Regions from separate parts of the Homo sapiens genome. Here region 1 is linked to region 2. Evidence: promoter capture Hi-C in human tissues and cell types (Jung and others, 2019). All regions are on one chromosome and are shown on one strand. Each heading gives the region's core, a stretch centred on a gene start or on the middle of the fragment in contact. The rest is flanking DNA. Distances are from core to core; before and after follow the strand shown. Region 1 overlaps KDM3B (lysine demethylase 3B). Region 2 holds the start of REEP2 (receptor accessory protein 2).

Region 1 (3,862 bases), core at 863-3,362, 49 kb after region 2:
CCAGTGCCAGAGCAAAGCCCAAATATAGCCCCAGCAGGATCACCTTTCAGGGGGGCAGTCCGAGGCCGGCCCTTGGGGGCCTGCTTCCCTTTGCTTTTGCCCAGCAACAGCTCAGCACTGCGCTCCCCATTGGGGCCCAGCTTCCCCATCAGGTGCTCTGGAATTCCCTTCAGGCCTGTCTTAGCCTGCAGCTGCTCCTCAGAGTCACTCAAATCTGACAGGTCACTGTTGGTGCTGGAGTCCGAGTCTTGTCTGCAAGCCAAGCTTCGTTCATCCAGTGAGAACCTTTTCACAGCTTCAAAAGGAGCTTTGTTCTCCTGTGAAAAATCTGCCGGGGAGGACAGAAAGCCGCCTGAGTGCCTGCCAAAGACGTTACTAAAGGTTTTGAGGAGGGGATTGTCCTGCTGCCCAGGCCCCACAGTTGGCCTCTCCTCTGTGGGGCTAGAGGAGAGAGTTGGCATCTCAATGGGCTGAGTGAGGCTGCTGGTGGGCGAGCTGGAGCGGCCATTCCCCATGGCAGAGAGGCTTGGGCCCCCACTGGTAAGAGCTGAGCCCAGAACACCAGATACTAGCTTGGAGGAGTCAGTTGTAATGAAGAGGGGTTTCTTCTTTGCTAAAGATGCCGAATCTGCAGAGGAGTGAGACTCGGGCCAGCTGGGTGCCACCTTGGAGGTGACAGTGGTAGCAGAAGAGGAGCTACCTGATGCCTGAGATGCAAAACTACTGAAAGGGCTGTGTTCAACTTTCTCCACAAATGCCAGGAAAGGATTAGAAGGCTCTTCTCGGGACAATTTGGGGGGCTGTAAAAATAGATTTTCATGATTCTCTGGGGTACGGGCATTTAGGAGGCTCCGTGGGAAGGCTGGAGTGAGGGTGGGCATGGACTCTGCAGGCACTTTCCGGTCCACAGAGCTGCCAGCCTTAGAGCCTGGCTTAGTGTCTGTTCCAAGAACGGATCTGCCTTTACACAGGCCTGAGCTCAGGCTCTCAAGGCTTTGTTTGAATGAGTCCCGACTAGAAGAATCATCAGCCAAACTCTCTGAAACAGTAGTGAAGTAGTTACTGGTAGGTAAAGTTTGGGACATGCATTGAAAAAACAAGTTTTTGGAGAGATCAGTGTCTTTCTGTGCCTCTTGTGCAGAGCTACAGCCAAAAGAGAAGCCCAAAGGTTTGTTCTCTGTGGCTAGAACACCATTGGACTGGCTCCTTCCACTTCCAAAAGTCAAAGGTTGCGATGAACTAGGGAGAGGTGCTCCAAATCCAGAAGAGGCCAGAATAGAATTTCTTGAATTCTGAAAGGAAGATAGCCTGAATTAGTGATGCTGGCTTCTCATGACAATCTAATGATCTCTTTCTTGGACCTCACTATCACCAGATCAACATTTCTTGGGGGTCCATCAACTTTTCTCTTTTACAATTCCATGGATCTGCTCTTGTAACTGGAGTTCACCAGCAGTGGGGAAGAAATCTGCCACAGACTACACTGAGGGCATCTTTAGCAAGGTGAACCAGAGATAGCAGGATGTCATTCATCCTGCAATTCCCTTGGTTGTTATCCAATTGGTCGTCACAGTGCTAGAAGGCCTTGTAGGCTTTTTGGTATCTATTTGGAAGTGAAGAGCTCCTCTAAGGAACTGGAGAAAAGGGTTCCTGAATAGACATCAGCTTTTACAGTGACCCCTGTAATATTAATATATCTCAATGACCTTGGGAGCTATTGTTAAAGTTTTGATTTATTTAGGCTACTGTAAAATTGCCCATTTTACAAAAAGTGGCTTTAATCCTAGGACAAGCCTACTGCACGTTAAAGAAAAGTGTTTTCCTTATTAATCTGAAAGTCCACAACATGGACCCTTTTGGATTTCGGCATCTATTTATGGGTTCAAGTCAACCTACAAGTTGAATATCTACTTCAATTAACGTTAGACGTAAAGATGCTAAATTAAAGAAAGCAAGCTATTTACCAAGACCTTTGTTATAATTAGAATCTAATAAGAATCCAAAGAGGATAAATGTATATACTGACAATATCCCAAAAAAAGCCTTCAGCATAACTGAAGAATGAAATAACAGAACACTCCCCTTTCCTTCTTTTACCTTCAAAATGTTAACTTCTGCTTGTGAATGACTGTATAAAGAAGAATGGGGCCTGGCGCGGTGGCTCATGCCTGTAATCCCAGTACTTTGGGAGGCTGACATGGGCGGATCACGAGGTCTGGAGGTCAAGACCATCCTGGCCAACACGGTGAAACCCTGTCTCTACTAAAAATACAAAAAATGAGCCGGGCATGGTGGCACGTGCCTGTAGTCCCAGCTACTCGGAAGGCTGAGGCAGGAGAATTGCTTGAACCCAGGAGGCGGAGGTTGCAGTGAGCCCAGATCGTGCCACTGCACTCCAGCCTGGCAACAGAGCAAGATTCCCTCACAAAAACAAAAAAAAGGAAGGACTTTCCTATATATTAATGTACCCAGATACAGACAAGAGAAAGGGACACACACACACACACACACACACACACACAGAGAGAGAGAGAGAGAGAGAAGAGACCCATAGGTAGGTATGAGCCCAAACTTATATTTATTAATTTAATAAAACCCAGATCCTAGTACTTGACTTGCTAACCATAGATTACTTTCAAGTAGTAGAGGATGATATACCTTAATATTCACTCTAAAACACTGGAAATAAAAATTATTCCATCACCACTTAATGGATATGGAGTTTTCCTTTTGGGGTGATGAAATTTCTGGATCTAGATAGTCTTCATAGTTTCGCAACACTGTAAATGTACTAAATGCCACAGAATTGTACATTTTAAAGTCGTAAGTTTTACATTATGTGTATTTTACTACAATTAAAAAAAAAGTGATTCCCGATAAACAAAAGGGCTATTCTCTTATAAAGAGGGGAGAGAGTTTTAATTAAACTATTCTTTAAATACACAAGAGGAGTTAACATTCAGGATTTCCTTGAGGAGTAGCATAGAGACGTACGAATCAAGCAGGCCACCTAGGCTTGCCTCTGTCTCTGCTACAGAGACTACTTCAGGGTATTTTAGAGTTAAAAAATAAAACTCCTTTTCTTTTTTCTTTTATCTTCCTACTAACCAGTAAGTATTGACTTCAACTTACTCCCTACAATAGAGAAAAAGAACAGACACAGCCCTGAGGTGCTGCTGTTGCTTCACAGGCAGGATTTGGCCAGGAGCCTTGATACCTGCATGACTGCAAGGAACTAGCATGGGTAGCTCATGTTTCACTCCTAAAGTTACCCTTTAAAAATAAATACACACATGAATGAAAAATAATTTGGATAGTCTTTCATTTTCCTTCAAATGATTAAATTCCAAATCCTTTTCTTATAAAAAGGTGATGAGAAACTCATGTCAAGCCAGTTTTTAGGGCAAGAAGTTTCCTGTTGGCTCTGTCTTTATTTTAGATCAGCCATTGTAATGAAAACATTCATTTCTACACATTTATTTATTTATTTTTTGAGACGGAGTCTCGCTCTGTCACCCAAGCTGGAGTGCAGTGGCGCAATCTTGGCTCACTGCAATCTCCGCCTCCCAGGTTCAAGTGATTCTCCTGCCTCAGCCTCCTGGGTAGCTAGGATTACAGACACATGCCACCAAGCCCAGCCTTTTTTTTTTTTTTTTTTTTTTTAAAGACGGAGTCTCGCTCTGTTGCCCAGGCTGGAGTGCAGTGGCACAATCTTGGCTCTCTTGGCTCACTGCAAGCTCTGCCTCCCGGGTTCACGCCATTCTCCTGCCTCAGCCTCCCGAGTAGCTGAGACTACAGGCGCTTGCCACCACGCCCAGCTAATTTTTTGTATTTTTAGTAGAGACGGGGTTTCACCGTGTTA
Region 2 (4,281 bases), core at 440-2,939:
CGCCATGATCCTTGGTTACACACAAATATGTCATGGAGACTGGGAGTCAGGTCACTGCCACAGGGTGTCTTCCTTCTTGACCTCATGCCCATTCACACCCATCTGCCCTTACCCTCCACCTCCCTCAGAGCCAGGCTCTGCGAGGGAACCTGACACCACCTAACAGGGCACCCTACCTGGCAGGCAGAGGTACCACTGTGGCCCTGGGGCCCTAGGGAACAGAGGGCACAGGGGCAGGAGGCCCTGAGAGAGGCAAAGAGGCTTATTCCCCCATGTAAACACCACAGGGACAGGGCTCAGGGGAGGGCCCCGCTGGTGATCCAAGTACAGAATGCAGACAAGACACAGGCCGGGAAAGAAGAGGACCGATGCCCTTTGGGGCTTGCCCAGGCAAGAGAGAAGCAGCCACCCTGAAGGCCACATGGAGGCGTGAGGCCCCTCCATTCCCCCTGGGATGGGTGGGGGAAGAGAAGGAGTCTAGAGTAAACCAGGACAGAAGCACTTGGCCGGCCCGGCTGTACCGAATGGGAAGAAGGGAGCAGGGTGGGGCTGCCGGTGTCAGTCCCCAACGGTGGAGGCCGAGGGGCAGTGTCCTCATTAGGGCAGGGGATAGCTCCGAGAACCACGAGGAGCCCCTGTCAGGCTCAGCCCCTTGACAATGTGTGGCTGTCGCCTGTTTCCACATGGACAGGAGGGATACTTCCAAACCGGCTGGTGCAAGTGGAGTGCGGAGCAGAATCCTCAAGGACAAAGTCTGGGCTCGTGGGGAATGGTGTGTGTTCCCTCCTGGGGCCCGGGGAGGTGCCAGAGACACAGCTCCACAGTGTGGCTGGCAGCCTGGAATGAAGGCCACGGAGCGTCCTCCCCCAGCGGGGTCCACAATCCCAGGCTGAGCACACACATCCCCTCTCCCAGTTACCTCTCACACTTTGTCCTCCGAGCATTTCTGCTTCCCGATACCCAGACTTCCTCCCTAGGGGGCCTAAGGGCATATGCCCTCGTCCCCAGTCTCCTGACAGTGAGTGGAAGGGAGAGACCAAGGGGCCTGGTGATGGCTCTGAGCTGCGGAATGATGATGAGGCCCTGCCTTGCTCCACTCTCTTCCATCACCCTGTTACCTCCCCCAGAGGGACAGGGCCCGGGTCTGAGGATCTCCTCCAGCCCAGACCTGCTAGGTGGGGGAGGGGACGCGCCTGCCTCCCCTTTTAAATCAAGCCGTGCTGCTCAGCCTCTAGGATGGGCGCAGGAGCAAGGACGGTAGAAATAAAAGAGGTTATTAATAAAGAATGTGGGTGAGGTCCCTGGGAAGCCAGGCCTGCCACGCTCCCCTAATATTCCCCCCTCCAGTCCTGGGTGCCACATCTCCATGTCTCTGGGGGCCCCAAATAAGGACGCAGCGCCTTTAGGTGACTCTGCTGCACGAAGCTTCGGAGAAGTCCACCCGGGCTTTAACACCCCCGCCCTCCATCACAGCCCGCATCACCCCCCGCCGCCGCCGCACTCACACCACCAGGCGAGAGATGATCCAGGACACCATGGCGGGGCCGGGCGCGGCGCGGGGCGGGGACCCGGCCCGGCCGAGGATGCAGCTGCCTGAGGCCGAGCGGCGGCGGCGGCGGCAGCAGGAGCCGCAGTAGCAGCAGCAGCCGCTGCAGCAGCCGCCGCGGGGGCAGCGGAGCGCCCAGCGCCGCCGTTAAAGGGGAGGTCCCTGCCGCAGCGGCGGGCCGTGGGCGGTGGCGGCTCTTAAAGGGGAGGCCGGGAGGCCGCCGCGGCGGCGGCGGCGCGCCCCCGCCCCGGCACCTGCTGTGGCCGGGCATGCGCCTCCGACCCTCAGTGCCCTGCCTTCCTCGAATCGCTTGTTCATCTTTCTTGGGTTTCAAGCCCTAGGCTGTTGTCGTGGAGGTCTCCATGGTTACATCCTGAAATCGACCCCTGCCCACCTCCTGCCCTGCCCACACCAGGCGCTTACTGTGTGCCAGCCCCTGTGCTAAGAGCTTCACTGCGTTGCCAGTGAATCCTCTTGACCACCCTATAAGGCAGGCGCTATAAAAGCCCTCATTTTGAAGATAAGGGAATGAGAAGCTTAAGGCTCAATAATCTGTTGAGAGTCACAAAGCCACCAAGTCATGCTGCTAAGATGACCCCAGGAAGCCTACTTTAAACAGGTTACATCCCCCAACTGCTGACTAGCAAACTCTCCTCATTACAGGCCCTGAAGACATCCACCTGAGCTCCTGAGTCACAGGTACAGCCGCACCTGTCCACCCCACTCCTTCTCACCCCGTTGAAAGAGGATCTCCCCTGACCAGATGATGTTTTGTTTTTTTGAGACAGGTCCTCACTCTGTCGCTCAGGCTGGAGTGCAGTGGCACAATCTCAGCACACCTCCTGGGCTTGAATGATCCTCCCGCCTCAGCCTCCCGAGTAGCTGGGACTACAGGCCCAAAACACCACCAGCTAATTCCTGTTTTTTTGTTTTTTGTTTTTTTTTGCCAAGATGGGGTTTTGCAATATTGCCCAGGCTGATCTCCAACTCCTGAGCTCAAGCGATCCACCCGCCTCAGCCTCCCAAAGTGCTGGGATCACTGGTGTGAGCCACCGGGCTGCTGGTCTGCTTTTTTAGGTTGTCAGCTCCTAAGCTTTGCAGCGGAACAGAGCTTTATGCTCTCAATGTGGTTACTGACAACAAAGGGTCAACCTTCTTTTCAAACAGAGGGGCTGCGAGAGGGTCCTGGGGCTCCAGTTCCACCCCCATCAGCAAGCACTAGTGGCAGTGAATGTCCTGATTCTAAAGACATTTATATCCAGAATGTAGGCTAGCCTGCCTCCTGATCTTCAGGAAAGCAACCAACCTCCAACCATCCACCAACACCCCCAGCCCTATTGCTCTCCTTTCCTGTCCCATTTTAGAGCTTCTGCATTCCTCTACCCTTTATGTTGAGTTGTAATCCTTCGGGTGACCACAGCATCAACCTGTGCCCATCTGGGCTGAAAGGACACATTCAGAACTGTGTATTTCAAAGAGTCATGGTCTTATTCAAGCTCAGTATCCCTGAACAACACAATGGTCTATTTCTAACCTGGTAAATTATATTTCCAGGTTCAAACACTTTGGAAGATGTTTCCCAAAACGTTCCAGAAAAGCAGCCTCTGATAACCCCTCTTGCTATTCTTTACAACTTCCTCTCCAGAAAACATCTCCTAATTGGAATGCAGTCTGTTATCACCCCACAATGAAACACTTTAATTACTGCTTGATAAATCCCACATGAGTGTCTCCCACCATCTCTAAGGTGGATCTATGGCCACACGTTTCATGTAGGCAGCCAGGCTGCCTGCTTAAGAATCCCACCACAGACTGTCCAACTTTGCTGAGGCCACACACCATGACCCTTCCCCCCAGACTCTGCCACAGGAAGGGAGGACCCCAACTTTCCCACTCCATTCACAAAGCATAAAGTATGGGGAAACATGTCTCTCTTTCTACCCTCTAATTCATGTGGCCCCTTCCCCTTACCCCCAATTCCCCAAACCATACTGACCTCACCCTGGCACTTTCCTTTTTTCTAACATGGCACAGTCTCAACAAGCAAAGAAAAATATCTGGGTGTAGCACAGTCATGAAGACCTGGAAATGAATCCCCCACCTCCAACCCAACTCCCAATCTGATGTTGATTTTAGAAGGGTTGGTACACGAATAATTTAGTCCACTCCAAACAGATTTGTTAGATTTTTAATAAGAACATGGAAATCCCAATCAGCCCTTCAACAAAATTAAAATACAGAAAGTGAAATTAAAAGTATTCTACATTAAATGACTTTTATTTAAAAAAAAAAAAAAAAGTAACTGTGAACATATAAACAGCCTGCAGGGCACTACAGTACAGCTGGAGAGATATACATTTTCCAATGTACCTATGGGCCAATGAATCCCACCATTTTCAAATAAATCCTTAATCAGACTCCACTCAGTTGGAAAGTTTTGCTGAAAATATTTCTGGATAAAAAACAAAAAACCTCATGTTGGAAATCAACTGTCCTTCCCATTTGGAAACATTAAGAGGAGTCCCCAGGGAACACTGGTAATAGGTGAAAATGGTTCCTGGAGTCACCAGTGTTGTACACACACATGGGGAACACACCACAGCTTAGATGTGACAAAGTTCCTTCTCATATGACTGTTCCCTCAAGGTAAGACTAAGATGGGAGGGGGAGAAAAAGAATCCTAAAAAAGCCAATTTTTAAAAATTCTGCTTTGGCTGATTTTGTGCTATAATGGG

The links. Contacts are between HindIII fragments. The study calls those that stand out against the background at their distance.
Region 1: a fragment that was not itself captured here is called in contact with the fragment with the promoter of REEP2 in region 2 in 1 of the 25 tissues and cell types used here (bladder).

The regions. Positions count from the first base shown.
Region 1 is chr5:138,388,443-138,392,304 of GRCh38, reverse strand. It overlaps KDM3B (lysine demethylase 3B), which reads right to left. Exons shown (of 24, transcript NM_016604.4): 8 at 44-1,292. Among named protein-coding and RNA genes, the nearest start is that of KDM3B, 38 kb to the right of the region's middle. The HindIII fragment of the contact is 4,652 bases long and covers 1-3,862 here.
Region 2 is chr5:138,436,465-138,440,745 of GRCh38, reverse strand. It overlaps REEP2 (receptor accessory protein 2), which reads right to left and starts at 1,689. Exons shown (of 8, transcript NM_001271803.2): 1 at 1,506-1,689. The coding sequence starts at 1,537. KDM3B (lysine demethylase 3B) reads right to left here. Exons shown (of 24, transcript NM_016604.4): 24 at 3,719-4,281. RefSeq lists an enhancer at 523-1,056 and a silencer at 1,442-1,861. The HindIII fragment of the contact is 10,254 bases long and covers 1-2,361 here.